Regions from separate parts of the Homo sapiens genome. Here regions 1, 3, 4, 5, 6 and 7 are each linked to region 2. Evidence: promoter capture Hi-C in 16 types of primary human blood cells and fetal thymus (Javierre and others, 2016). All regions are on one chromosome and are shown on one strand. The core of a region is centred on a gene start or on the middle of the fragment in contact, and the rest is flanking DNA. Distances in the headings are between cores, read along the strand shown.

Evidence for each region. Contacts are between HindIII fragments. The CHiCAGO score rates a contact against its expected background, and 5 or more counts as called.
Region 1: a contact is called between a fragment that was not itself captured here and the fragment with the promoter of CHD7 in region 2, in 1 of 17 cell types (non-activated CD4 T cells). The highest score is 6.4, in non-activated CD4 T cells.
Region 3: a contact is called between a fragment that was not itself captured here and the fragment with the promoter of CHD7 in region 2, in 1 of 17 cell types (naive CD8 T cells). The highest score is 5.2, in naive CD8 T cells.
Region 4: a fragment that was not itself captured here is called in contact with the fragment with the promoter of CHD7 in region 2 in 1 of 17 cell types (activated CD4 T cells); the score reaches 6.5 in activated CD4 T cells.
Region 5: a fragment that was not itself captured here is called in contact with the fragment with the promoter of CHD7 in region 2 in 3 of 17 cell types (naive CD8 T cells, neutrophils and naive CD4 T cells); the score reaches 7.5 in naive CD8 T cells.
Region 6: a contact is called between a fragment that was not itself captured here and the fragment with the promoter of CHD7 in region 2, in 2 of 17 cell types (non-activated CD4 T cells and naive CD8 T cells). The highest score is 7.9, in non-activated CD4 T cells.
Region 7: the fragment with the promoter of SDCBP here is called in contact with the fragment with the promoter of CHD7 in region 2 in 1 of 17 cell types (non-activated CD4 T cells); the score reaches 6.0 in non-activated CD4 T cells.

What each region holds. Positions count from the first base shown.
Region 1 is chr8:58,405,100-58,408,739 of GRCh38, forward strand. No RefSeq gene overlaps it. Among named protein-coding and RNA genes, the nearest start is that of UBXN2B, 4.4 kb to the right of the region's middle. The HindIII fragment of the contact is 1,117 bases long and covers 1,816-2,932 here.
Region 2 is chr8:60,677,352-60,680,884 of GRCh38, forward strand. CHD7 (chromodomain helicase DNA binding protein 7) reads left to right here and starts at 1,389. Exons shown (of 38, transcript NM_017780.4): 1 at 1,389-1,731. RefSeq lists silencers at 937-1,376, 1,737-1,836, 2,497-2,866. The HindIII fragment of the contact is 9,178 bases long and covers 1-3,533 here.
Region 3 is chr8:58,666,725-58,670,405 of GRCh38, forward strand. No RefSeq gene overlaps it. Among named protein-coding and RNA genes, the nearest start is that of NSMAF, 8.7 kb to the left of the region's middle. RefSeq lists an enhancer at 2,534-3,221. The HindIII fragment of the contact is 5,273 bases long and covers 1-3,681 here.
Region 4 is chr8:58,646,187-58,649,637 of GRCh38, forward strand. All of the region lies in intron 1 of NSMAF (neutral sphingomyelinase activation associated factor), which reads right to left. Among named protein-coding and RNA genes, the nearest start is that of NSMAF, 12 kb to the right of the region's middle. The HindIII fragment of the contact is 1,418 bases long and covers 1,141-2,558 here.
Region 5 is chr8:63,167,905-63,171,635 of GRCh38, forward strand. YTHDF3 (YTH N6-methyladenosine RNA binding protein F3) reads left to right here and starts at 717. Exons shown (of 5, transcript NM_152758.6): 1 at 717-997; 2 at 1,483-1,507. The coding sequence starts at 974. YTHDF3-DT (YTHDF3 divergent transcript) reads right to left here and starts at 538. Exons shown (of 1, transcript NR_102684.1): 1 at 1-538. RefSeq lists enhancers at 260-479, 680-999 and a silencer at 1,080-1,319. The HindIII fragment of the contact is 4,463 bases long and covers 1-3,731 here.
Region 6 is chr8:58,567,659-58,571,330 of GRCh38, forward strand. It overlaps SDCBP (syndecan binding protein), which reads left to right. Exons shown (of 9, transcript NM_005625.4): 3 at 3,229-3,307. Among named protein-coding and RNA genes, the nearest start is that of SDCBP, 16 kb to the left of the region's middle. The HindIII fragment of the contact is 1,298 bases long and covers 960-2,257 here.
Region 7 is chr8:58,551,125-58,554,565 of GRCh38, forward strand. It overlaps SDCBP (syndecan binding protein), which reads left to right and starts at 2,137. Exons shown (of 9, transcript NM_005625.4): 1 at 2,137-2,179. RefSeq lists enhancers at 1,710-1,889, 1,796-2,513 and a silencer at 1,990-2,519. The HindIII fragment of the contact is 12,216 bases long and covers 1-3,441 here.

The DNA.
Region 1 (3,640 bases), core at 1,124-3,623, 2.3 Mb before region 2:
TGTTGATAGATCTTCTTATTTCTTGACTTTCCATGAATGGAAAATGGGCTTTGGAGATAGTCAAATGTGGTTTGAGTTATGGATCTGATATGGTTTGGATCTGTGCCCCCACCCAAATCTCAGGTTGAAATGTAATCTCCTGTGCTAGAGGTGGGCCCTGGTGGGAGGTGATTGGATAACAGGGGCTGCTTCTAATGGTTTAGCACTATCCCCCCAGTGCTGTTCTTGTGATAGAGTTCTCACAAGATCTGTTTGTTTAAAAGTGTGTGGCACCTCCCCACACTTCCTCCTGCTCCAGACATGTAAGATGTACCTGCTTCTCTTCCCCTTTGCCTTCTGCCATGATTATAACTTTCCTGAGGCCTCTAGAAGCCAAGCAGAAGCTGTTCTGCTACCTCTATAGCCTGCAGAACAATGAGCCATTTAGCCCCTTTTCTTTATAAATTATCCAGTCTCGGATATTTCTTTATAGCAGCACAAGAACAGACCAATACAGGATCCCTACCACCTTCATTCACTCACTCATGCAAATAGTTATTAAAAGTACATATTATGGTTCCAGGTTCTGTGTTAAGGCACTAGAGATGAAGTCCTGGCCCACATACTCCATGAGCTTAGTCTAATGGAAGGAGAAAATAAGTATAATAAAATGTTTAACATTAAGTTTCCAGTTTAAGGACCCCATAATATATATGATAGGTCAAAATGGGTGTGAGAAAGATGCTCCTGGAGAATGTTTCAAAGACGATGAATGTCATGATTCTTGAACCTCCTCACCCACTTTGAGAACAGAAAATAGAGAATCAAGGAGAGTGAGGTATGTGGTCGTAGTTCTTTGAAGAAGAATGGGGAAAGATATCACTTTCATCACAAGCCAAAAGAAAGGAGACTTCAAGGCGACCACTTGAATGTTTGTTGATATTTTTGTTCACATTAACAAGATACACATAAGATGCAAGTGAAACACAAACACCCATAGTAACTCAACAACGTGAGCAACTTCTTCCGGAATCAGCTAGTAATTTTCAAATACTAGAGGAAAATTTACATTTTTTTTCTTTTGCTATTCACAGCATAACAGCTGCAGGCACAGCATACTTTTAAGTCTTATCTGCCTCGTAAACATTTTCTCCAACAGATCCTTAAATCTCCAGTGGGCAATCAACAAAACAAGAAATCGAACTTTTATTTATGGCGTTTACCAATTTCTGAGGTGGGAATACTTACACCATGGTAGATTTCAAGCTACTAACATGTTGTCACTGAATGCGAATTGGGAAGAGGTGTGCAATAGCATCTCCACCATATAGATCCAATAGATGTAAATCCCCTCAGGAGCATAGATAATAGCAAAATGTATTCAAATAACTAGGAAATTAGAGATTTGAATATTTATTGCATGAGTTTTTTGTATAATTTAGTTGTACATTTATATCATTTAATTTTTAATAATCCCTGTTTAACAACTGCCTTGCAAAATTCCTAAAAATTTAACAGTAGGCTCTCATAAGCCAGTGCACGGCAACTTCTGCACACCATTGACATTAAGTTCATTGAATATGTAGCCTTCACTATCCTATCTGTCACTCTGAAACTAGTAAAATATGGATTTTCCTCACTAACTATGAAATTGGTAGTAACTTTTGGGACAGCATCTCCTGTTCCTTTAGTCCAGTGGATACTTTTTAGTCTTAATCTTTCTTGATTATCTGTAGTAAATGACATCATTGGTATGCCTGTTGAAACTGCCTCATCACCAGTTTTTCCAGTCTCTTGTGTTCCTCTCACCTCTCTATTACTCAGGGCTACATTGAAAGCTTTCCTTTTTCCACTGAGTTCTTCAATGTTGGTGTTTGTGAGTGTTCTTAATCCTCGAATCTTCTCACATTTCACACTGCTCCTGCGAAGCCTTGTCTACTCTATCATTTACATGCAGTCAACACCCAAATCTGTATGTCCAAACCAAAATTCTTGCCTAATCTTCTAATCTTTATACCCACATTTGCAATTGCTCCATGATGCATTTTCACCAGAGTGTTCCACATACATTTTGAACTCAAAATGTCCATAACAAACTTGTTTATTTCCTTTGAAATTTGTTTCCCCCTTTCAACTCAATAATTTACGGGTAGCACCATTTGCCAAATCACCTAGCCAAATCCCCAGATGTCATTTTTTATTCCTCTTTTTTTCATGTATTCCACATTGAAGACTCCAGCTCCTGTCGGTTCTGACGTTAATATTTCTACCAAGTATTGCTTCTTTCTGTTCTCACTGCCACTGATAAAAATTGAGTCCTAATTACTTCCCATTGTTGTAATAATCTATTTCCTAACTTTGACTCATCATACACATTGATGCATCTGTAATCTTTGTAAATCACAAATCCTTTAATGGCTCCCAGTTGCCTTAGAGCAGTGTCTCTCAAACATAGCTGCACAACAGAATCAGCTGAGCAAGGATTTTGTTCAATCAAGTTTATAAATGAATAATTTACATATAATAAAATGCATGCATTTTAAGTGTATACAGTGTGCTTTTAACAAACGTATTAATACATACCTGTGTAACTACCACCACAATCAAGTTATAAAACACTTCTGTCACCTCAAAAAGTTCCTACATGTCCTACAATTGGGGAACTGAATCCTTACTCCAAAAGACAGCCCCAAGCTACCACCAGCTTTTAGTCATTAAAGGTGTTGCCTGTTCTAAAATTTCATATAAATTAAATCAGACAATATTTACTCTTTCGCACCTGGCTTTTTTTACCCAAGATAATATCTTTGAGATTCATTCAAGACATGTGAATCCATAACTTCTTCCTTTTTACTATTGAGTAGTATTCCATTGTATGATTTATCAAAATTGTATCCATTCATTGGCTGATGGACATTTGGATTGTTTCCAGTTTACAGGCTATTACAGATAAAGCTTCTATGAACATTTGAGTTGAAATACTTTATAAATGTATACTTATATCCCTCTTGGGTCAATATTTAAGAGTAGAATTGCTGGTTCTTATGATAATGGAATATTTAACATTAGAAGAAACTGACAACCTCTTTTCCAAAGTGGCTGTACCATTCTAGGACCCACTAGCAGTGTATGAGAGTTCCATGCAGAAAGCCAAGGCAACAGCTACTCGGGAGGCTGAGGTGGGAGGATTGCTCTAACTAGACAGATTGAGGCTGCAGTGAGGCGTGATTGCACCACTGTACTCCAGCCTGGACAACAGAGAGAAACCCTATCTCAAAAAATAAATAAATAAAAATAAAGAGCCTGGGCAAATATAGTCACCTTGTTCGTTTTCCTTCTTTCAGATATCACAGACCTGTACTGCCTGTTGCTCAATGCCTTAAAACTGTTGTTTTTAGTTGTTAAGAGTGGGAGGACAAGTCCAACATCAGGTATACTGTCATGGCCAGCAGCAAAATCCACTTTGCGAACATCTTAAGAAATATGATGCCTGACTCCCACTCTATACCAATTATTAATAAATCTGAGTACCTGGAGACGAGAGAGAAGAGGTGATTCTAATGTACAAGAATGTTAGAGAATCACTGGCTCAGAGGATTCCATCCCCAACCTAAGGCAAGATCCTTCAGAATCTGTCTCAAGCCTCCATTCTACATCTGTC
Region 2 (3,533 bases), core at 139-2,638:
ATAGAATTATTACTAAAATCAGAAAATCAATGTCTTAGTGATTAAGTCTAGGATAATCAAACTTATTGAATAGTTGCAGTAGTTACTTAATGAGATAGTTTTGATTAATCTTTTGTCCAAATAACAATATTGTGATTACAGGCTTAGCACTACAGGTAGTGTAACCATCAGTGAGTGAGATTAGTACATTTTACATAGTTTTGCTATTTTCTCAGTTTATTTTGGAGTCCAGTAATAACCAGTCAGTCTGTACCTGCCATAGGGCAATCTTTGGTTGATATGAGTTCCTTTCCTGATTTTAAAATAAGTGCAATCTTTAACCTAATAAAATTATCTTAAAGTTTACAATTGATGGTTTAAACACATTATAATTGCTCCGTATTTTGCAGATAGAAGAGGCTTAATCCATGTTTGTAGATCTATTTCCTAAAATAAAAATTAGTAAAAAAAAGTTTTTTTTCTTCAGGTTTAACATTCATTTTGTACCGGGAAGAGAAATGGAATAAGAGGCTCGGATTTTTAAGACTATGCAATCAGATACAAGTGCCATTTTGGCCAAAGAATGAGTAAAACATTCTAGTCCCGACACGTTTAATAATGGGCATACATCCTATTTCTTTGTTTCATAATCATTGAGCTCTCTGCCTTCTCTCTCTTTTTTGGTATGGTAACAAATTCGACAAAATCAATGCCATCTAGTTAAACTTTTTGATTAAGTAGTGGATCCGGTGTCCTATCCACGAAGAGGTGGGAAAAGCGATGTGGAGAAGCAGGCACGAACCCATCTGGAATGGAACATGTCCCTTCCGAATAATTTCATGTGGGAAAATAATTTCAAGTTGAAGGATAATTACTGCAGAGACTGCCAGTCACCCCCGGCCGCCGCCGGCCGCGCAGCGTCGGAAACCCTTCGCGGCAGCCAGGAGGGTCGCAGCCCTCCCGGAGCCCCGCTTCCTGCCCCGGGGCGGCGCACCCGGCTCCGGGAAGGTGCCGCGCGGGAGACGTGGCAGCAGCCCCTCCAGTCCGCGCCCGGGCGCAGCGGCCGAGCGCTCCGTGCAGCCGGGCAAGGAAGACTCCGCGGCAGCAGCGCACCGGCCGGCGGGGAGACCCGCCTGAAGCGCCGGCGCCCGCCAGGGGACGGGAAGTGGCGCCCGGCCCGCCCTTGCGGCCCGCGGCCCGCGGCCCAGCAGCTCCGCGCCGCCCCTTTTCTCTCGGCCTCTCCCTCGGCCTCCGCCACCCCGGCCGAATTCTTGCATAAATTATGCCAGGCGCGCCTGACGTCAGGTGGCGGCGCGCGGGCGCGGGCGCGGGCGCGGCGCGGCCCGGAGGGAGCTGGCGGCGGGCGCGCGCGGCCCCGCGGCTTCGGGTGCGCGCGGCGTGCCGGACGCGCGCAGGCGCTGGCGTGCTGGGGCCGCGGCGGCGGCGGCGGCGGCGGCGGCAGCGGCGGCGGCGGCGGCGGCGCGGGGGTTGAGTCGTGGTGGTGCGGACGCGCTCGTGCTCGGGAACTATCGGATTAAACTTGAATCGAGTGAAATTACACAAAGGAGCGCCGCGGAGGAGGCGGCCCGGGGACCCGGACACCCTGAAACTCACCAGAGACCCGTTCGCCCCCGGCCAACTCCGTGCCCGTGGATTCAGCCCCCTGGCCGCAGCTGCCGAGCCAACTCCGGAGCCCGCTCTGCGTTTTGTTTTCCCCTCGGCACTAGGCAGCGGAGGAGCCCGACCGACCCGGTGAGCGCGAGAGTTCGCCCGGCGCCCCCGGGAGGGGCGGCGGCGGCGGCGGCGGCAGGAAATCGCTCCGGGCCGGGGCCGGGGCCGCGCTAGGAGTTGGGAGCGAGGAGTTGGGCGTGTGCGGGGCGAGGGGCGAGGGGCGAGGGCGGGAGGGGGCCGGGGCCAGCGCAGGAGCGCAGCGCCGCCCGCGTAGTGTCGCCGGCGTCGCCGCCCGCGGGGCCCGAACCCGCGCCCCGAGCGCCGCCCGGCGCCCCAACTTTTGCCTGCGTCCGCCGGGCCGGCGGCGGCGGGGGCGCGCGGTGCGGCCGAGGGTCACTTCCTCGCATGTAAATGGCTTTTTGTTGTGCTGCCGGCGTGGGGGGGGGGTACGGGGGACAGGAGGGAGCGTGTCTGCGCGCGGGGGAGCGCGAGCGCGTTTCCTCCCGCCGGCGCCGAGCACGAGTTGCCGGCTCCATTCGAGAGAAAAAGGAAGGAGGAAAAGTTGGGCTCCAACTCAAGTGCGAGCGGGCGATGGGCGCGCGGGCGCGGGGCGGCTGAGCAGCGGCGGCGGCGGCTCGGGGACGGCGGCGACCCCCGCCTCCCGCCCCCGCCCCCCGCTCCGGACCGACCACGCCGCGCTCGCCGGGAGCTGCGGCCGCACCGGCGCGAACAAAGTGCGTTCCTCCCGGCGCGGCGGCGCCAGCCCGCGCGGGGACCGCCACCGAGCGAGGTGGGTCGGCGGCGGGGAAAGTGCGCGGGGCGCCGCGTGGGGCGGGGGCAGCGCGAACACGCGGCGCGGGAGGCGTCCCGAGCTCAGCCAGTGCCGGTCGCGGGCGCGGAGTTGCGAGCCCGGAGTTGGGGGCTCCTGGGGCTCCCCGGCGGCTCCCAAGTGCGCTAGGAGGAGAAGAAAGGGAGCGGGGCCGGGGCGAGCGCCGGGAGGCGCGGCGAGGAGGGGACCCCACCTTGTCGAGCTGGCCGGGCCGCCGGCGGCGGCAGCTGCATAATAGCGACTTTAACCTTCCAACGCAACTCGGCTCCCCCGCCCCCCAACCCGCCGGGGGTCAGCGCCGGTGGGGGGTGGTCACCAGGTGGCCCCCGAGGTGACCCGGGTGCGCTCTGCCCTCGCAGAGAGCCGCGGCTTGGAGCGTGAACGGCCGAGGTGGCTGGAGGCCAAGCGGTCAGCGGGGAGAGGAAAGGAGGGCGGTGGGGGACGCGTTGTTTGTTTGGTTCGCACCGGGGATTGGGCTCGCTGGGGGCGCGGGGCTCGGGCGGGGGCGCGGGCACCGGCTGGGCTGCGGTGCGGGGCGGGCGCGGCGGCGCGGGGCTGTCGAGGTCGCGGGGGGGGGGGGCGGGGGCGGCGGCGGCGGCGGCTCCCGGGCGGGGGTGGGGGCGCTGGTCGGGAGGCTCTGGGGAAGGAGCCGCCGGCCCCGAGCAGCCATCATTACCGAGCCGCCTTTCTCCGGATGGCTCTGCCTCGAGGAGCCCGGAGCCGTGGGAGCGCACCCCAAACTCCCGGCCGGCCGCCCGCTTTGTGAGCGCCCCCGTGAAGCGAGCGGCGCGGAGAGTGCTCCTGCTATGGGTCGGACTCTTTTCCTGGAGGTCACTTTTAGAGACTGCTCACGCCTTGGTTTAAACTAGTTTTTTTCCCCCTCTTCTGAACAGACAATGGACAAAAGAAAAGTAGCAACCCACATGGAGAGAGTTTCCTTTTGAATTGCTAGAATTAGATACACTATCCAGCGCTCCACTTGCTAAGTATACTTTTTAGTTTCCCATTGTATATTATCTAGCAATCGATTTAAATAACTTATCTTAAAAAGTGT
Region 3 (3,681 bases), core at 490-2,989, 2.0 Mb before region 2:
CACCTGAGACTATTATTTTTTTCTTTACATCGTCTTCATTAAAAGGTATTGACTATTTATTGTATGCCAGGAAATGTTCTAGGTACTAGAGACTCAGCCATAAATGATATGAAGTCCTTGCCCTTTTGGAACTTACCTTCTGGTAAGAGTGACTATTTAAAAAGTGAATAATGTAAATTTAGGTAAGGATAAGTATCACAAGAAAAACTGAACCACAGTAAGGAATAGAGCATGAAGAGGGTGAGAACTTCTTTAGATAGGGGGTCAGAGAAGTCTCCTCTGATCACTGATATTTCAGCTGACAACTAAATGAATTAAGAAACTTGAATGTGCAGATCCTGAGAAAAGGCATTCCAGGTAGAAGGAATAGCAAGGTCAACAGCCTGAGCCAGCACTTTAGTGTCTAGAGCACACTAACGGTGAGAGATAGAGGCAGCAGGGCCCAGACCACAGGACAAAGGTGAGCACTGGATTTTTTCTTATTATTTTTATTAATGTGTGACACAGGCCACTGGAGGGGTAAGAGCAGGAAAATGACATGATATGTTTTACATTTTAAAGTTTGACCACTGCGTTACAAGCCTGAAAGAAGCTCAAAACTTACATGGACAGCAGGAAAATTTAGATAGAACTGTGATCAGCTCTTTCCTCTTGCACATTTTGCTTAAATAACAAAGGGAATTGTATGAGTCTGGGTTCTCCAGAGAAACAGAACTAATAGGAGTTTATATATAGGAGTCTGGAATGTATATATCCAAGTCTGAGCCCAAGAACCTGAAAACCAGGAGAGCCCGTTGTATAATCTCCAGTCTCATCCCAAGCCCAGAGGCAGAAGAACAATGCCCCAGCTCAAAGACAGTCAGGCAAAGAGAGATTATTCTCTCTTACTCCACTTTTGTGTCCTATTCAGGCCTCCAATAGATTGTTTGAGGCCTCTCTACATTGGGAGGGCTGTATGCCTTACTCAGTCCACCAACTCAAAAGGAACCTCCCCCACAGACATACCCACAATAATGTTTAACCAAACATCTGACCCCATGGACCAGTCAAGTTGACACACAAAATTAGCCATCACAGGAATTTGTAGCTCAGGTACCTGGAAATCCGAAGTATCGTATACATCAATGTTCGTTAATCCAGTGGCTCAATAAGTTCATCAGAGACACAGTTTTTCATCATCTTTCTGTTAGGCCTTCCGCATAGTTAGCTGCCTTCTAAGTCTGGTTCCCTTCCCCTATGGCTGGTAATAGGTAGCTTCTGGTATTTGGCCAGCTGCCTACTTTCTCCCTCAGGGTGAGAGACCTCATCCAGCCCAGGCTGGCTAGCAAGTATCTAGAGACTCCCTTGATTGTCCCTATTAGTTCACATGACTTCCCCAAATCCAAGACTGATGAGGGAAATGAAACATTCTCTGAGACTCTGGGCCATCTCTAGAATTGGAGGTAGAAGTTAGCATTCCCCAAAGTACATGAGTTAAGTAAGAAAGGGGTGGAAAGACAAATGAAAATGCGTGTGTGAGTAGGAGCAGGTCCTGGGGCAGTAATGAGATTTGAGACATTTAAGTCACAGCAGACATTGCGTGTAATCACTTATGTTTTCTCATTTTGGCAATGCCGGTGCAAGCCTCCTCTTCTCCCTTTCATAGTTATCTGGGCATGTGAGTTAGTGTTGAAATTAATGGAGGAATAAGACCTCACATTTTTTTAAGAGGATTTTTTTAGATGATTTTTCCCATGCAGTTAATACTGTTTCTGAGGTTCTGTTTTTTATGTCCAGTGGGAAAAAATTAAATAGGAGCTGTATATGCCCATATTGGCATCAATTTTTCCTCCATGGGTTCTATACAGCTTCCAGAGGGCATCTGTTATCTGTCACCTGCACAGTTTATCTTCCTTGCTTGGGTAAAGATTAGGGTAATTGCTGAAGTCATCCCTCATTTAAGATCTTCTCCCTTGTACTTTATAAATCCAGCAATGTTTTTACTCTGCATGTTGCTAATCGGAGATTAGTATAGATTAGGTTAGAAGATAAACAGGAAATTATAAATAAAACCATAATTTTAAGATATACATACATTGTATGCCCTAAAATACAGAAATGTCAACTTCATAAAAAGTAAGTGAAAATTACAACAAAATGAGATACTATTTTCAGATATCGATGTGACAAATATCAGTACTGTCAATGGTCGTGTCCAGTGCTGAAGTGCTTAAACACTATTGATGGAAGTAAAATTGGTAAATTTCTCTAGTGTAAACTGGTAAATGTTTAGTAACCAGCAAGTTGGAAGAAAACAGGCTGATTTGGAGTGTTTGCCAATTTCTGTCGTGTAAAATACCCCCACTATGGCCAATTTCATGTTACCAACGTGAAATCACTGAATGCAGAGCTGGGAAGAGATGTATACAGGTGAACTGGCTCTTCTGGAAGGCAATTTAAATATATCACAGGATTCAACAAAATTTGTTTTTGTTTTGTTTTTGTTTTTTGACACAAGGTCTCTCTCTGTTGCCCAGGCTAGAGTGCAGTGGCATGATCTCAACTCATTGCAACCTCTGCCTCCCGGGCTGAAGCAATTCTTTGACCTCAGCCTTCTGGGTAGCTGGGAGTACAGGTAAGCACCACCACACCCAGCTAAAAAAAAAAAAAAAACAAAAAAAACTTGTACAGACAGAGTCTTTCTACATTGCCCAGGCTGGTCTCTTGGATTCCTGGGCTCAAGTGATCCTCCTGCCTTGGCCTGTCAAAGTGCTGAGATTACAGGCGTGAGCCACAGTGTCTGTCCCAGTTTTATGTTTAATCAGTTAAAAACCAACAGTAGGGCTGGGCGCGGTGGCTTATGCCTGTATTCATACCACTTTGGGAGGCCGAGGGGGTCAGATCACTAGGTCAAGAGTTCGAAACCAGCCTGGCCAACATGATGAAACCCTGTCTCCACTAAGAATACAAAAATGTGCTGGGTGTGTTGGTGTGTGCCCGTAATCCCAGCTTCTTGGGAGGTTGAGGCAGGAGAATTGCTTTAACCTGGGAGGCAGAGGTTGCAGTAAGCCAAAATCGTGTCACTGCACTCCAGCCTGGGCAACAGAACGTTTCATTTCCCTCATCAGTCTTGGATTTGGGGAAGTCATGTGAACTAAGAGAGACAATCAAGGGAACCTCTAGATACCTGCTACCTAGTCTCGGTTAAAAAAACAAAAACAAACAACCAACAGTAATCCAGTTTCTACTAAGAGGTCAATGGTTAAGTAAATTGTTATCTATTCAGTAAAATAATATGTGGTCATTTAAAATCCTGTTTCTAAAGAAGATTTAATTACTTAGGGAAATGACTACAATGAATTTGTGAAATATTTGGAAATGATATATTTTATATTATCTCAACATATCTTAAGTGTACTAAAAATTTAGCAAGTGTTTATAGCAGTTATTTCTGAATACAGAGATTATGTTTTCTTCTTTATACTCCTACGTATTTCCCAAAGAATATAGAAGTGCCCCTTATTCACAGTTTCACTTTCTGCAGTTTCAGTTACCTGCAGTCAACAGCAGGCCAAAAATATTAAATGGAAAATTTCAGAAATAAACAATTCATGCATTTTAAATTGCTAGGTGTTCTGAGTAGCATGATGAAATTGCATGCTCTCTGTTGCTGTCTGGCTCTGTCCCACCGGGGATGTGAGT
Region 4 (3,451 bases), core at 600-3,099, 2.0 Mb before region 2:
TCAATTACAGGGTAAACTGCCAGAGTGCAAAACAAAATGCACACTATCAATACTTAATCTGAATTTCAATATAGTCACAAGACAGAATTGGAGTTACACATCCTTCCTTCTCTTTCCTAATCGCCTCACTCCTTCTCTTATAGAGAGGGAAGAATAGAGTAAGTATTCTTCAATAAGACAATGGCATAATTTTATTTCTATGATGCACAAGTAGCCTTCAGAGACAATTCTTCCATATAATTATTAAAATATAATCATATCAGCTATTTTAGAACTAAAGTCATTTTGGTAAGTGAATTAATTATAGCCTCCTTAATTTATCAATATGCATATTTTGCAAGAAATGTAAAACACACAGTGAAGGGATATAACCAAATCATATTGTTTGAAGTAAAGGATTATGAAACTTTTCTGAGTCTATGTTTTCTTTTTACTAAAGTGTTGTTATACCCGCTTTAAAATTTTTCTATGTAAAAATTATTATAATTAAGTTGCATGATTTTTAGAACAATGATTTTCAAACTACATTTTACGGAGTAAAAGAGTCCATGCTTAAAAAAAAAAATTAAAATCACCGTTTTGTAATTGGATGGTCTCATCCTTTGGTATTGTATCTGACTGTAAATTATTTCTTTAGAAGACTCTTAGCCCTGCCCCTACATATTCCTAGTTTAATCCTCCTTTACAGAGGTGTGGTTTCATTCTCTTTAGAGAAGTTTCCTCATTGAGCAACTCAACATTCCTAAAAAGATGTTTTCCTATTCTTACATCACCTAAATTTTAAAGCCTACTGTACAACACTTAACTAGAACTTAAAATAGCTGGAGTAACCTTGCATTCCACTCAACAATTATTCAACACTCAGCTGATGAACAGTATTTACAGTGGATCCAGAAGGTTTTGTTAGTCAATGCTTTCTCTAACAGGCTTCACTGTGATAAGAAGTGTAACCCAAACTTATTGGGAGGAAGTGCTGTGATGCCATGACACTTTCGTGATGTGTGCAGAGGCAAAGGAAAGCACAGGAGTGCTGTGTATTTGCCACCTCTACTCTCAATACCCCAACACCAGCCTTGAATGAAGCTAGACTACAGTGCCCCTACTAGAGAGTTGATTTAATTAAACGGACCATTTTTAAGAAGCTTCTGAAAATGATTTCTGAAATAAAGAAGAAATTAAGAAAACTGTTATAGACAAGGCAAGATCGCAGTCCTACTACCCACCATTGGAAACATCCCCCCAGTAATACACTGGACAGTGATATAGTTTGGATGTTCTGTCCTCTCCATATGTCATGTTGAAATGTGATTCCCAACGTTGAAGGTGGAGGCCCGGTAGGAGGTGATTGGATCATGGGGGTAGATCCCTCATGACTCAGCACCATCCCCTTGGTGATAAATGAGTTCACAATCTGTTCACTCAAGCTCTGGTTGTTTAAAAGGGTCTGGGAACTTCCCTTTCTCTCTCTTGCTCTGTCTCTTGCCATGGGATACACCTGCTCCCACTCACTTTCTGCCATAGTAAAAGCTCCCTGAGGCTTACCAGAAACCAAGCAGATGCTGGTGCCTTGCTTCCTGTACAGCCTGCAGAACCATGAGCCAACTAAGCCTCTTTCCATTGTAAATTACGCAGCCTCAGGAATTTCTTTATAGCAAAACAAAAACAGACTAAGACATAAAATTGGCACCAGGGAGTAGGGCATTTTATTATGGATATACGTAAAGACATGGAAGCAGCTTTGGAACAGGGTAACAGGCAGAAGCTGGAAGAGTTTGGGGGACTCAGAAGAGACCAGGAAGACAAGGGAAAGTTTGAAACTTCTCAGAGACTGGTTAAATGGTTGTGACCAAAATACAGATAGGAATATGGACAGTGAAGGTCAGGCTGACACGGTCTCAGATGGAAATGAGGAAATGAATGGGAACTGAAACAAAGGTCGCCCTTGTTACAAACTAGCAAAGAACTTGGCTGCATTTGTGTCCATGTTCTAGGGATCTGTGGAAGGTTGAACTTAAGAGTAAGGACTTAGGTAGGGTATGTGGCGGAAGAAATTTCTAAGCAGCAAAGGGTTTCAGAACTGGTCTGGCTGCTTCTAAAAGCCAACAATCAGATACAGGAACAAATAAATGACTTAAAGTTGGAACTTACACTTAAAAGGAAAGCAGAACATAAAACTCTGGGAAATTTGTAGCCCGGCCATGTGGTAGAGAAAGAAAAAGCATTTTCAGGAGAGGAATTCAAGCCGGCTATGGAGTAAGCTATGGAATAATTGCATGCTAGAGAGATGAGCATGACTAAAAGGTTGCCAAGGGCTAATATCCAAAACAATGGGGAAGGCCTCAAAGTCATTTCAGAAGTTTTCAGGATGTCCCTCCCATCACAGAGGGCCTAGGAGAGGAAAGAAGGGCTTAGGGGGCCAAGCCCAGCTTCCCACTACCCCATACAGCCTAGGGACACTGCTTCCTGCAGACCCACTGTTCCACCTCCAGCCATGGCTCAAAGGCCCACAAGTACAGCTCATGCTGCTGCTCCAAAGGGTGCAAGACATTAGCCTTGGAAGCTTCCATGTGGTGTTAGGTGTGCAGGTGCACAGAATGCAAGCATGAAGGAGCCTTGGCAGCTTACCCCTAGATTTCAGAGGATGTGTGAAAAGGCCTGGAATCCCGGGCAGAAGCCTGCTACAAGGATGGGGCCCATACAGAGAACGTCTACGACAGTAGTATGAAGGGGAAAAGTGGGCTGGAGTCCCCATATATAGTCCCCACCAAGTGGAGTTATGAGAAGGGGGCCACCTGCCCTCTAGACTCAACAATGGTAGAGCCATCAGCAACTTGCAACCTCAGCATGGAAAAGTTGCTGGCACTCAACTCCAACCTGTGAAAGCAGCCAAGTGGGCTGCACCCTTCAAAGCCACAGAGGCAGAGCTGCCTAAGGCCTTAGGAGCCCACTTCTTACACTGCTGGCCCTGGGTGTGGGACAAGGAGTCATAGGAGATTATTGTGGAGTTTTAAGATTTAATGACTGCCCTACTGGGTTTCAGACTTCAGTGAGGCCTACTGCCCCTTTCTTTTGGCAGATTTCTCTCTTTTGAATGGGAATGTTTACCCAATGCCTGTACCACCATTGTATCTTGAAAGTAGATCAACTGTTTTGATTTTACAGGCTCATAGGTGGAAAGAGATAGGTGTAAGATGAGACTTAGGACTTTGGACTTGATGTTGAAATAAGTTAACACTTTGGGGGACTATTGGGAAGAAATGATTGTATTTTCCAATGTAAGAAGAACATGAGATTTAGGGGGCCAGGGGCAGAATGATATAGTTCGGATGTTTGTCCCCTCCGAATCTCATGTTAATATGGAATTACCAATGTTGAAAGTAGGGTCCAGTGGGAGGTGACCTGATCATGGGGGCAGATCCCTCATGAATGCCTCAGCACCATCCCCTTGGTA
Region 5 (3,731 bases), core at 254-2,753, 2.5 Mb after region 2:
TTATTCATTCAAAAACATCAGAGCGGAGTCAAAAGCACAAATCCATGAATTGGGCGGCGAAGTCTGACTCCAGAGATTACGGCTGAACTGGGTTTGGAAAGACTGAACCCGCGCCGGTGCTCCTCCTGTTTGCTTGGACTTAAGTTTGAGTACCACAACTCTAACCTGCCACTTCAGCTGCACGGGCAGGCTTGTGGGGACCCAGCAACTCCGTCCAGAGAGCGGCTGAGTCAGCCAGCCGTCCCCACGGCTTTGGGCAGCCGCCGAAGGCTCCTGCTAGGCCCGGCTGGCTCACCGGGAAGTTCCCTGCCTCCGTCCCGTCAGCCTCCAGGAGGGCGCCGCCGGCCGCCGTGACTTCAGCAAGGCACTACTATCTCCGTCAGCCGCCGCCTCGGCCATCTTCCTGCCCGGAGTGCAACAAAATCCGGCTCTGGCCAGCCTTCCAGCTGACGCCACTCTGCCAGGGCCCTGCAGCCTCGGAGCGGGATAGAAGGAAGCCGCAGAAAAGACGCTGAAAGTTGGCGCTCGCTGACGCCCCGACGCGCTCCCTCCATGACGCATGCGCCCACCGGCCGTGAGCGCGGGTCCGGTCTCCGGTGACGTGGCGGTGAGGAGGCGGAGCCAAGATCAGCGGCGGGAGGGTGGGGGAGGAAGAGCGAGGTGAGCGCGGACGTCAGAGTGGAGAGCGGAAGGTCAGGGAGGCTCGGAGCGGAAGTGAGACTAGGGAGTCTGTCCGCCATTGTGGACCCGAGAAGCAGAGAGCGAGAGGGGGAAGAGGAGCGTGCAAGCGGAAAAGACGGGCCTCTTCCTCCGACTCCCGAGCGCGAGGCCCTCATTTTGGGTTCTCAGCGAACGGCGGCAGCGGCGGCGGCTGGAACAATCACTCGGCCAAGGGCGACAGCCAACTGCTGTGAGTGCACGGGGAGAGGCCCAGGCAGCGGCGGCGGCGGCGGCTCTCGGGTTGCGGTGAAGAATGTCAGCCACTAGCGTGGATCAGGTGAGGGAGCAGAGGCCCCAGGCTTGGCGAAGGCCCGAGCCCCGGAGCTCCACCCTCGCGCGGGGCTTCGGCTCCTCCCCGTCGCCGCCGCTGCCGGCCCCATAACGGTGCCCCGGGCGCAAGTTGCTGCGGTGTAGCTACCCGGGCCGGGGCGTGCGCCCTGGCCCCGTAGCTTGCGGGCGGGCGGGCGCGGTGCCGCGGCGGGTGGGGGCAAGGACCGGTCTTAGGGGCCTTAGGACAGATCCTGAGGGCGGCAGACATGGGGCGGAGACCGGGCGAGCTCTGGGAGACGGATTCCGAGTGGCGGGTGGGAGGTTTAAAGGCTGGGGGTGGTTGGGAAATTGGTGGCTGTGGAGGATATGGTGGGTTTTTACTCCTACGCGGATAGTCTAAAATAACTTGTCTTTGATAATGCCTTTGATTAACACACTTTTTCTTTTCTTCCTTTTTCTCCTCTTTACCGCATCTTTCGTCTTGCAACACAGAGACCTAAAGGGCAAGGAAATAAAGGTGAGTTTGGATTTTTTTTTTTCTTATTGCTCAATGTTGCCTTAATGTTACTTTTAAACTCTGTGAGGGTATTTTGTTTGTTTTTGCTCCCTCTTGGGAAAAAATGTAGGATTAGGGAAAATATTCATCATGGCTAAGGTAGCCAAGTTCTATCCAGAACTTCGGTAGTTCGTTGCTTTGAAGCCACTTTATAGAAACCAAAGTAGTACGAGAAACAGTTTCCTTGTCAGTTAAGCAGGTATTGGTGTGAACCTGGTGGTATTTCTTTGGTTTTCCAGTTTTTCTGTGTTATGTAACTTATGCCACAAAAAATTTCTACATGTGTATATAGACAAGTATATTCTTAAAGTGGACATTTTGTTTGACATGTCTGGATTACACTGGAAAATGGAAGTCTACATAGTATTCCATCACATTAATGAAAATTGTACTGTTAATCACTGATTCTATTGAAGTCAGTTGTAATGAGGCAACAACATGAGAGAGGTTAGAACTGAGTAGGCATGCCATCTTGCTCTATTGTTCTGATTGCAAGGTGTGACTCTATCTGGTATTTTATAAAGGGCTGAGAAGAAAATAGTTTGTGACATTTTTTCCAGGATTTTATAATTTTCTCTTTAGTAAAAGTACCATTGAAAGTAAAGTGTTTTTTTAAAAAGTGTGTTTTGTATTAATATGGAACAGTGCAGTCAGCTGACTGAAACATTATGACATTAGTCATGTGACATTTAGTTAAGTATAGAACAATAACTGCTTTCTTGGGATAGTGCCAATTAAATAACATCAGAGCAAATTATATATAACATTTTGTAGTGCTTGAAATTACACTAAAATTATGCTTTCTGTTGATTTCAGTAACACAGTGTTAGAAATTAAGATCTATAATAGCCTTTTAGATATAGATTGTCTTTGGTGCCCTTTAAATTCTTGTTAGGGTATTTATTTGCTATTGCAAATTTGGTGAATTTAATAGGTTTTGGATATGTAGATTAGTTTCCTCTGAATTATGGAATTTGTACATACCAGTTACATGGCACCATATTAGGTAACATTTTGTTTGTTTTCATTAAAGATGTTTTCTTGCAGTATGTAAATATTTAGACATTTTAATTTTTAAAATTTCATTTCTAGAATTTTTTTTGTTGTAAGCATAAACCTGAAATAAAAATTGGATATTGATTTATTTTAAATGAGTTTTTAAAAATTTGTGAATTTTAAAAAGAATGATCCATTAATTTCTTCTTTTGCTAGTCTACCCATTAGGAACTATGTAGACTTGGAGATTGTGAAATTGTGGTCATTATTGCCTAGCATAAATTATTTTATCCTAGATCTGTGGGGAGGTGGCACTTTGCAAAGCTATTTGAAATGCTAAGTGTTTTATGTTACCCGCTTTAAGGTAAGTACACAAGTTCTATGAGGTACTTGTTTGTTAAAACAAAATAGAGCCTCTACAGCACTGTAAGTCAGTAAAATAAGTTTGATTTATGAGTGGTCATTTCACTTAGGTAGGCACTGGTGGCATCTTTGATATTAGATATGAGTTGAGTTATCTATAAACTGCATAATACATCCACTGTTTGCAAATAAGTATTTTTTGGTTATTTCAAAAATTTTTATCCATCAGTATCGCTTCTGTTAGTTGTATTCAGACACATACACAAAGTGTTTATTTTGATAGTTCTTTATTCTCAAGAAATTTTCTTTCTTTCCCCCTTGTTGTTCAGTTTAATAATTTCATCTAAGGTTAGAATAATGGATTGGGATTCCTTGGAGTCCTGAGTTCTAATACTGCCTTTGGCTACTGACTTGCCAAGTGAGCTTGAAAACATTTTACCTGTCTGTCAGAATCTCCCCTCTATAAAATAAAAATAACTCTAGTCATAATTCCCATAATTCCTATAGTATGTTGTTAGGATTCTTGTAATTACAGTAGTTCACTGCTCTAGTAGCAATTATATTTGCTGGATTTCTTTTCACTTTCCTCACTTAATCTATTTTTAAGGTGCAGGAAGACTCCTTTGCATGGAGCCTTGGCAGGAGGGGAAAAATGCTACTGGCCTGAAAGTATTGCTAATTATTTAAGTTTCTTAAAAATGGCAGATGCTACAAGTGCACAAATAACAAATATACGTTACTTGTATTTTTATGACTGCAGGGAGAATTACAAGGCAAAGGCAACACTACCAGTGAACCTGATATAAGTAGCTATGTGTGTATTTGA
Region 6 (3,672 bases), core at 359-2,858, 2.1 Mb before region 2:
TTTTGTCGTGCAAACATTATAGAGTGTACTTCCACAAATGTAGATGGCATAGCCTACTACACATCTAGGCAGTATGGTATAGTCTGTTGTTCCTATGCTACAAACCTGTATGATCCCACCTGTATGATACAGTAATACTGCATGTTACTGTACTGAATACTGTAGGCAATTGTTACACAATAGTATTTGTGTATCTAAACACAGAAAAGGTATGGTAAAAATACAATGTAAAAGATTTAAAATGGTACATCTGTATAAGGCACTTACCATGAATGGAGCTTCCAGGACTAGAAGTTGCGCTGGGTAAGTCAGTGAGTGAGCGGTGAGTGAATGTGAGGCCTAGGACATTATTGTATACTGCTGTAGACTTTATCAATACTCTATACTTGGGCTGCACTAAATTTATTTAAAAATTTTTCTTTCTCGAATTATAAATTAACCTTAGCTTCCTGTAACTTTAATTTTTTAACTTTCTGACTCTTGTAATAACATAGTTTAAAACACAAACATTGTACAGCTGTATAAAATATTTTCTTTCTTTATATCCTGATTCTATAAGCTTTTTTCCTATTTTTTAAATTTTTAGTTTTTAAAAATCGCTTGTAAGTTTGTTAAAAACTGAGACACACACTCACATTAGCCTAGGCCTGCACAGGGTCAGGATCATCAATATCACTGTCTTCCACCTCCACATCATCCCACTGAAAGGTCTTCAGAGGCAGTAACATGCATGGAGTTGTCATTTCCAATGGTAATAGTGCCTTCTGGAATACCTCCTGAAGGACCTGCCTGAGACTGTTTTACAGTTAACTTTTTTTGTAAGTAGAAGGATATACTCTAAAGGGTATAACACAGGAAATACATAAATGAGTAACATAGTCATTTATTATTATCAAGTATTATGTACCATGCATAATTGTAGATGCTATACTTTTTTATATATGACTGGCAGTGCAGTAAGCTTATTTACACCACCATCACCACAAAGTAATGAGTTGTTCTGTGTGACGGCAGCTATGATGTCACTAGACAGTAGGAATTTTTTAGCTCTTTTATAATCTCATGGGACCACTATTGTATATGTGGTTCATCATTGACCAGAACAGGCAGCACATGACTGTATACCATTGTAGCATTAGACAGAATAGGTTCACTGCTCGAAAAATTCTTTAATGCCTGTTCTTCCTTCCCTTCTAGAAACTCCTGGCAACCAATAATTTGCTTTTGCTTTTGTGTTTTCTTTAGCGTCAGGATGTCGCTCTGTTGCCCAGGCTGGAGTACAGTGGCACAGTCATGGTTCACTGCAGCGTCCATCCTCCTGCCACAGCCTTCTAAGTAGCTGGGACTACAGGCATGCACCACCACACCTAGCTAGTTTAAAAAGAAAATTTTTTTTTCCCCCAAAACGGAGTCTGGCTCTGTCACCAGGCTGGAGTGCAGTGGTGCGATCTTGGCTCACTGCAACCTCCTCCTCCTGGGTTCAAGCAATTCTCCCTGCCTCAGCCTCCCGGGTAGCTGGAATTAACAGGCATCCACCACCATGCCCGGCTAATTTTTGTATGTTTACTAGAGACAGGGTTTTGCCATGTTGGCCATGACAAACATGACAACATGCCATGTTGGTCAGTTGAACTCCTGACTTCAGGTGATCTGCCCACCTCAGCCTACCAAAGTGCTGGGATTACAGGCATGAGCCACTGTGCCTGGCCAAAACAATTTTTTGCATAGGCAGGGTTTTCCTATGTTGCCCAGGCTGGTCTTGAACTCCAGGCCTCAAGCAACTCTCCAGCTTCAGCTTCCCAAAGTGCTGGGATTAAAGGCCTCAGCCACTGTGCCTGGCCTAATATTTTATTATCTCCACAATTTTGCATTTTTCAAAATGTCGTATAGTTGGAATCATAAAGTATGTAGCCTTTTGAGATTGGCTTCTTTCACTTAGTAATATCCACTTAAGTTTCCTCCATGTCTTTTCATGTCTTTATAGTTCTTTTTTTTTTCCCAGTGCCGCACAGTATTTTTTTTGTTAGACATGATTCAAGAAGTAATATAACAAGCCACTAGCTCCTTTTAGCTAATCGGTGGTGAAAGAACTTTCAAAGTTCAACACATGTTCAATTTGTGGATTGTTATTTATAATTATAAAGATTTTCATGCTGTATTTTGTTTAAATCTAGAATGTTTAACAAATTATGAAATAATAAATATTAAAGGATGACTCAACAAGTATATCAGAACATATAATTTTAGTACCATTCAAAGCTTTCATAGGCTTTACTTATTTAAACTAAGCTTTCATATCTCCAAGCATCTTTGGGAATACTCTTGACATTGATTTTAGGGCTAGGTTGAGATACTACTATGAACTTCATTTTTAAAATGATACATTTCCAATAAAGTAAAAAGTTGGTAGAGATTGGTCATACAACTTATTACCAAACTTGTCTCTAATGACATATAGCTATTTCAGAAAGTCAGATCTAATTGTAAAGGATAAAGTATTTCCATCAGTGAGATACTTCATATGATGTAGGCCATCAAGACAGCCCTGAGAAGAGGATACTTGAGCATGAGTAGCATTGATAAATGCTAGAGTGTCAGAGTGTGTCAGAGTGATTTTGGCAAGTTTGTTTAACAGTTACAAATTACATTACCTTGTCATCATCGATTTATGTCAGTGATAAACTGTGCTATTTTCATAATTTCTGATATTTTAAAAGTATTTAGCATAAACCCCTTCCTATACTTGCTGCAATGAAGATAAAGATGATTTCAGTGGGACATGCTTAGTATTAATTTTTTAGGTGTTTTTCTGATATGTGACTTTTATATGAATATGGGTAAGGTTTTTTCTTATGCAAATAAAATATTTTTACTTGGACTAATTAGTAAAAGAATAATGAAAATGTAAAATTTATTCATTTTAGAATGCACTTTGAAAATATTAATTTATTGTGGCAGCACTATGAAGTGCTGGTTATAAGACATGTAGAATGGTACTTCTACAATTTTTTTGTGATAGCCTTAAAAGTATTTAGAATATCAAATATAGTTTTGATTTGCAGATTTCCTTTGGAAAATGTATTGCTGATGTGTTTGAAATTAAACTTTCTTACATAAATCTTCATTGTTTTAGTTTCTTTTTGGAAGTACTGGATTTAGCTTATAAATTATATAAGAATATAAAGTAAGTATAGCATATTGTTAGAATTTTCTTCTTTTCTTTTTCAGGCTCAAACTGCTTTTTCTGCAAACCCTGCCAATCCAGCAATTTTGTCAGAAGCTTCTGCTCCTATCCCTCACGATGGAAGTAGGTTTATACTTTGAGTTCATTCTCTGTGAACAGAAATATTGTTATCTTCTTTTGCTCATATAAGGAATCCAAGATTTTTTTTTGGACAGGCTGCATAAAATTGGTAGTTAAGCTCAAATAGTTATGAATAAGAAAAAAAAGTTTACTTCAAAAAATAACCCTTTTTCTAATTAAGATAGTGAACTGTGGATATGGGGATGTATTTCATGGCTTAATGAAAATTAATTTTAGACTGACTTGTAAATCCCTAACGTGGCTGATTCATTTATGAATGAATTATATATATGAATTCACATATGAGAACTATATGAATTCACATTTAAGAACTATCATGCTGCTGCTGTTGAACTTTCTGAATTGTC
Region 7 (3,441 bases), core at 887-3,386, 2.1 Mb before region 2:
TGAGGCTTAATCTCCAATGTGATGGTATTTAGACCCAAGGTTTTTGAGAGATAATTAGCTCATGAGAGTTGAGCCCTCGTAATGAAATGAATGCCCTAATAAGAATAGATAGAAGAGAATGTGCTTTATCTGTCTTGTTTTCTGCCATGTGGGGATACAATGGGAAGAATGCCATCTGCACACTCAAAAGTGAGCCCTCACCAGATTTCCAGATGTGCCAGCAACTTGATTTTGGGCTTCTCAGACTTCAGAGATGTGAGAAATAAATTTCTGTCGTTTAAGCCACCCAATCTATGGCAATTTGTTACAACAGCCTGAACTAAGGTACTGTTAGGCCTCTGACTTTGTTCCTCTCCTTTGGTATTGGTTTGGCTCTTCTGGTCTTTCATTTTTCCATATAAACTTGAGAATCAGTTAATATCCACAAAATAACTTGCTGGGATTTTGATTGATTTGATTTGATTGTATCAAATCTATAGATTAAGTTGGGCAGAACTGACAGTTAAATATCAAGTACTCCTATCCATGAAAATGGAATATCTTTAAATTTATTTAGATCTCCTTTGAACTTTGTAGTTTTTCTCATTGGAAGTTTTTTTTATTTAGAATTTTGTAGTTTTTCTTGTATAAACCTTTTACATATTTTGTTAGATTTATACCTAAATATTTCATTTTATTTTGGTGCTAATGTCAGTGGTTATTGTTTTTAATTTCAAATACCAATTGTTTATTGATGGTATATAAGAAAACAACAGACCATGTATGCAGGTCGACTATTCCTAGTACAGAAATCCAAAATATGAACTACTCTAAAATATGAAACTTTTTGAGTGCTGACATGAGGACCAAGGGAAATGTTCACTGGAACATTTTGAGTTTTGGAGTAGGGATGGTAAACCCATAAGTATATAATGCAAATATTACAAAAGCAAAAAAAAAAAAAATCCAAAATTGGAAACATTTCTGGTCCCAAGCATTTTGGCTTAGAATGAGCCTGTTTTAAACTTGCTCATGCAAACTTGCTATAATTGCTTTTCATTCTGTTTTTTTAGGCGAGGAGTGTCAATTTTTTCCGGATTTTCTATGTTAGATAACCATCTCATCTGAAAGCAAAAAGTTTTATTTCTTCCTTCCCAATCTACCTTGTAATTATTTTTAAATGTCCATTTCATCAGCCTAACTATAACCTTACTGAGAGCAAAGTTTTCATCTTTAGTTGTCACCTCTTTTACACTCAGATTTTTATTAGTTTTGCCATATATTAAATTATTCTGGCACTAATTTAGCTAGAAATAAACTGCTTGTAAATGCTATTTTGTCAAGGACTCTACAGTATTCCGTGGTAACTATGATTACTCTTGGGTAAACTGTGCCTCAGTTTCTTTGTCTGTAATGGGATGTCTTTATAGACTGATGTGAAGACCAAATAAGACTATACATTAAGTTCGTAGAGCTATGGCTGGCACAAAATCAGCCCTCAAGAAATGATCGTTATGTTTTTTTACTGGGAAGCAATTACTTTTGCGCAGCACCACACCTAACTCTCAATAGCGAAGGAATATTAGCTTAGGCGGACAGAGTAATACGCCCCCCACCCCCAACATCCAAATTTCCAACAGAAAAATAAAGCAGGAGTTGAGAAGGGGTCGTGAGAGGAACGTTTCTGAGCCTATAGTGGAGAGGTACAGCAAGCGGAGAGTGAGACTAGGGCAGCAAGTGGTGGAAGTCGAAGGCATCCCAAGAGGGAACAGGGGCTCCCGAGACCTCTTTGAATTGGAGGCGACGAGAACCAAGCGACCGTGAGCTGCGATGCACACAGTAGTGAGTGGGTGGCACGGGGCCCGCGGGCACGAACAGCCGAAGAGCGGAGAAGACTGGGAGCATAACCGCTGGGCAGCGGGCAGCGGACAGCGGGCGGCATGAACCGCCCCACTTTGCCGGATACCTGGAGCTGCAGGAACGACCCACACCCAGGCCTCTTTACCCCTACCGCCCCGTTACCTTGGGGACGGGATCACCCGACCCGGCGCCGTGCGACTGCGCGGGCTGAAGGCGGGGGCGGTGCCATGACGCGCCTCGGGGGCGGTCCTCGGGCGCGCACCGCTCTCTTACACTCGGGCCTCAGAAGTCCGTGCCAGTGACCGGAGGCGGCGGCGGCGAGCGGTTCCTTGTGGGCTAGGTGAGAGGCCAAGGGGGCAAGGAGGGACGCCGGTGCCAGGTCCCGGGCGCGGGGACTTGGGGCAGAGGTGTGACGGTCCCTGGGCCACTTCACAGACTGCATCCTGGTCGCAGCCGTTTTCGCGAGGCAGCGGCGACGCCCTCTCCTCAGGGGGCTCCGCGCCCCTCCCTGCGCCCTGCTGGCTGGGGGGGCAAGTTTGCGGGAGCAGCGCGCTCTTCCTGCCGCGACCCCGCGCGTTTCGGGTTCCTGCCCGGGCTGGGGCTGGGGCTGGGGCTGGGGCTGGGGCTGGCAGAGCCCGGAGGCCCGGCTGGGTGAACGCCTTCAGCCCCCGCCCCAGCTCTGGGGTTCTTCCTGGGACCGTCTCTCGATCCTTGTTTTCTCCTCGATAAGATCTCGACATAAGAAAGAGCCTCTGGCCACGGTTCCTCCCAGTGCTCGGCGTTTCTAGGGCTGTGCTTAATCGCCCTTCTTTTGGGTTATTCGGAAAGTCCTGGATTTGAAAGGAGGAAGGAAGTGTTTGTTTATTGGGCGAAGCCTTGACTTTTTTGGAAGGGGGTGGGGAGAGGTTGTTCGCTTTGAGCTTTTTCCTGGAGAAGTTGGACCTGAGGGAGAAACGTTTCCAGTAGGGTGTGTTTAGAAGGAAATACCCCTGAGATCTGACCCCTGAGATATGATGACTCAGAGCCTTCCTTTCAGGATTTCCTTGTAATAATGGGAAAGGGAAGGCATATGGATGTGGAAAGTTTTCACTTTTACCAAAGTGGTGATTATTGAGTCATGGAGTCTTCTAATGTGTCCATTTTTGAAAGGAGTTTGTAGATTATCTAGTCTGTATAACCACATACACATTTACTGTTATCTTTTCCATTACGTACATTGCTTAGAAAGTACGCTCGGCTTACCAAACTCTTAACATCCGCTTGTTTCAAAAAGAAATCGTTGATTAAAGCAGGAAATTTACCTTGAAAAACAACTGCGGGCCTTTTAAATTAAATTGATTTCTAAATGTGTATGTGATTAGTTAAAACTCAAATTTGTTCAGTCTTTTTATTTTCCTGTTTAAGATTGAGGGATAACGGTAGAAAATACGTCCTTTTGTCTTCTGTGTTACCAACTTAATTCTATAAAATTTGTGCCTTAAATGGTACATAAATATTATAAATCTAGTGGTTTGTGGCACAGAATAAAAAGAAGTAGAATGACTTTTAAAATGGTCAGTAAATAGTCACTCCATTATAAATTAAATTTAACTTTGGAGACAT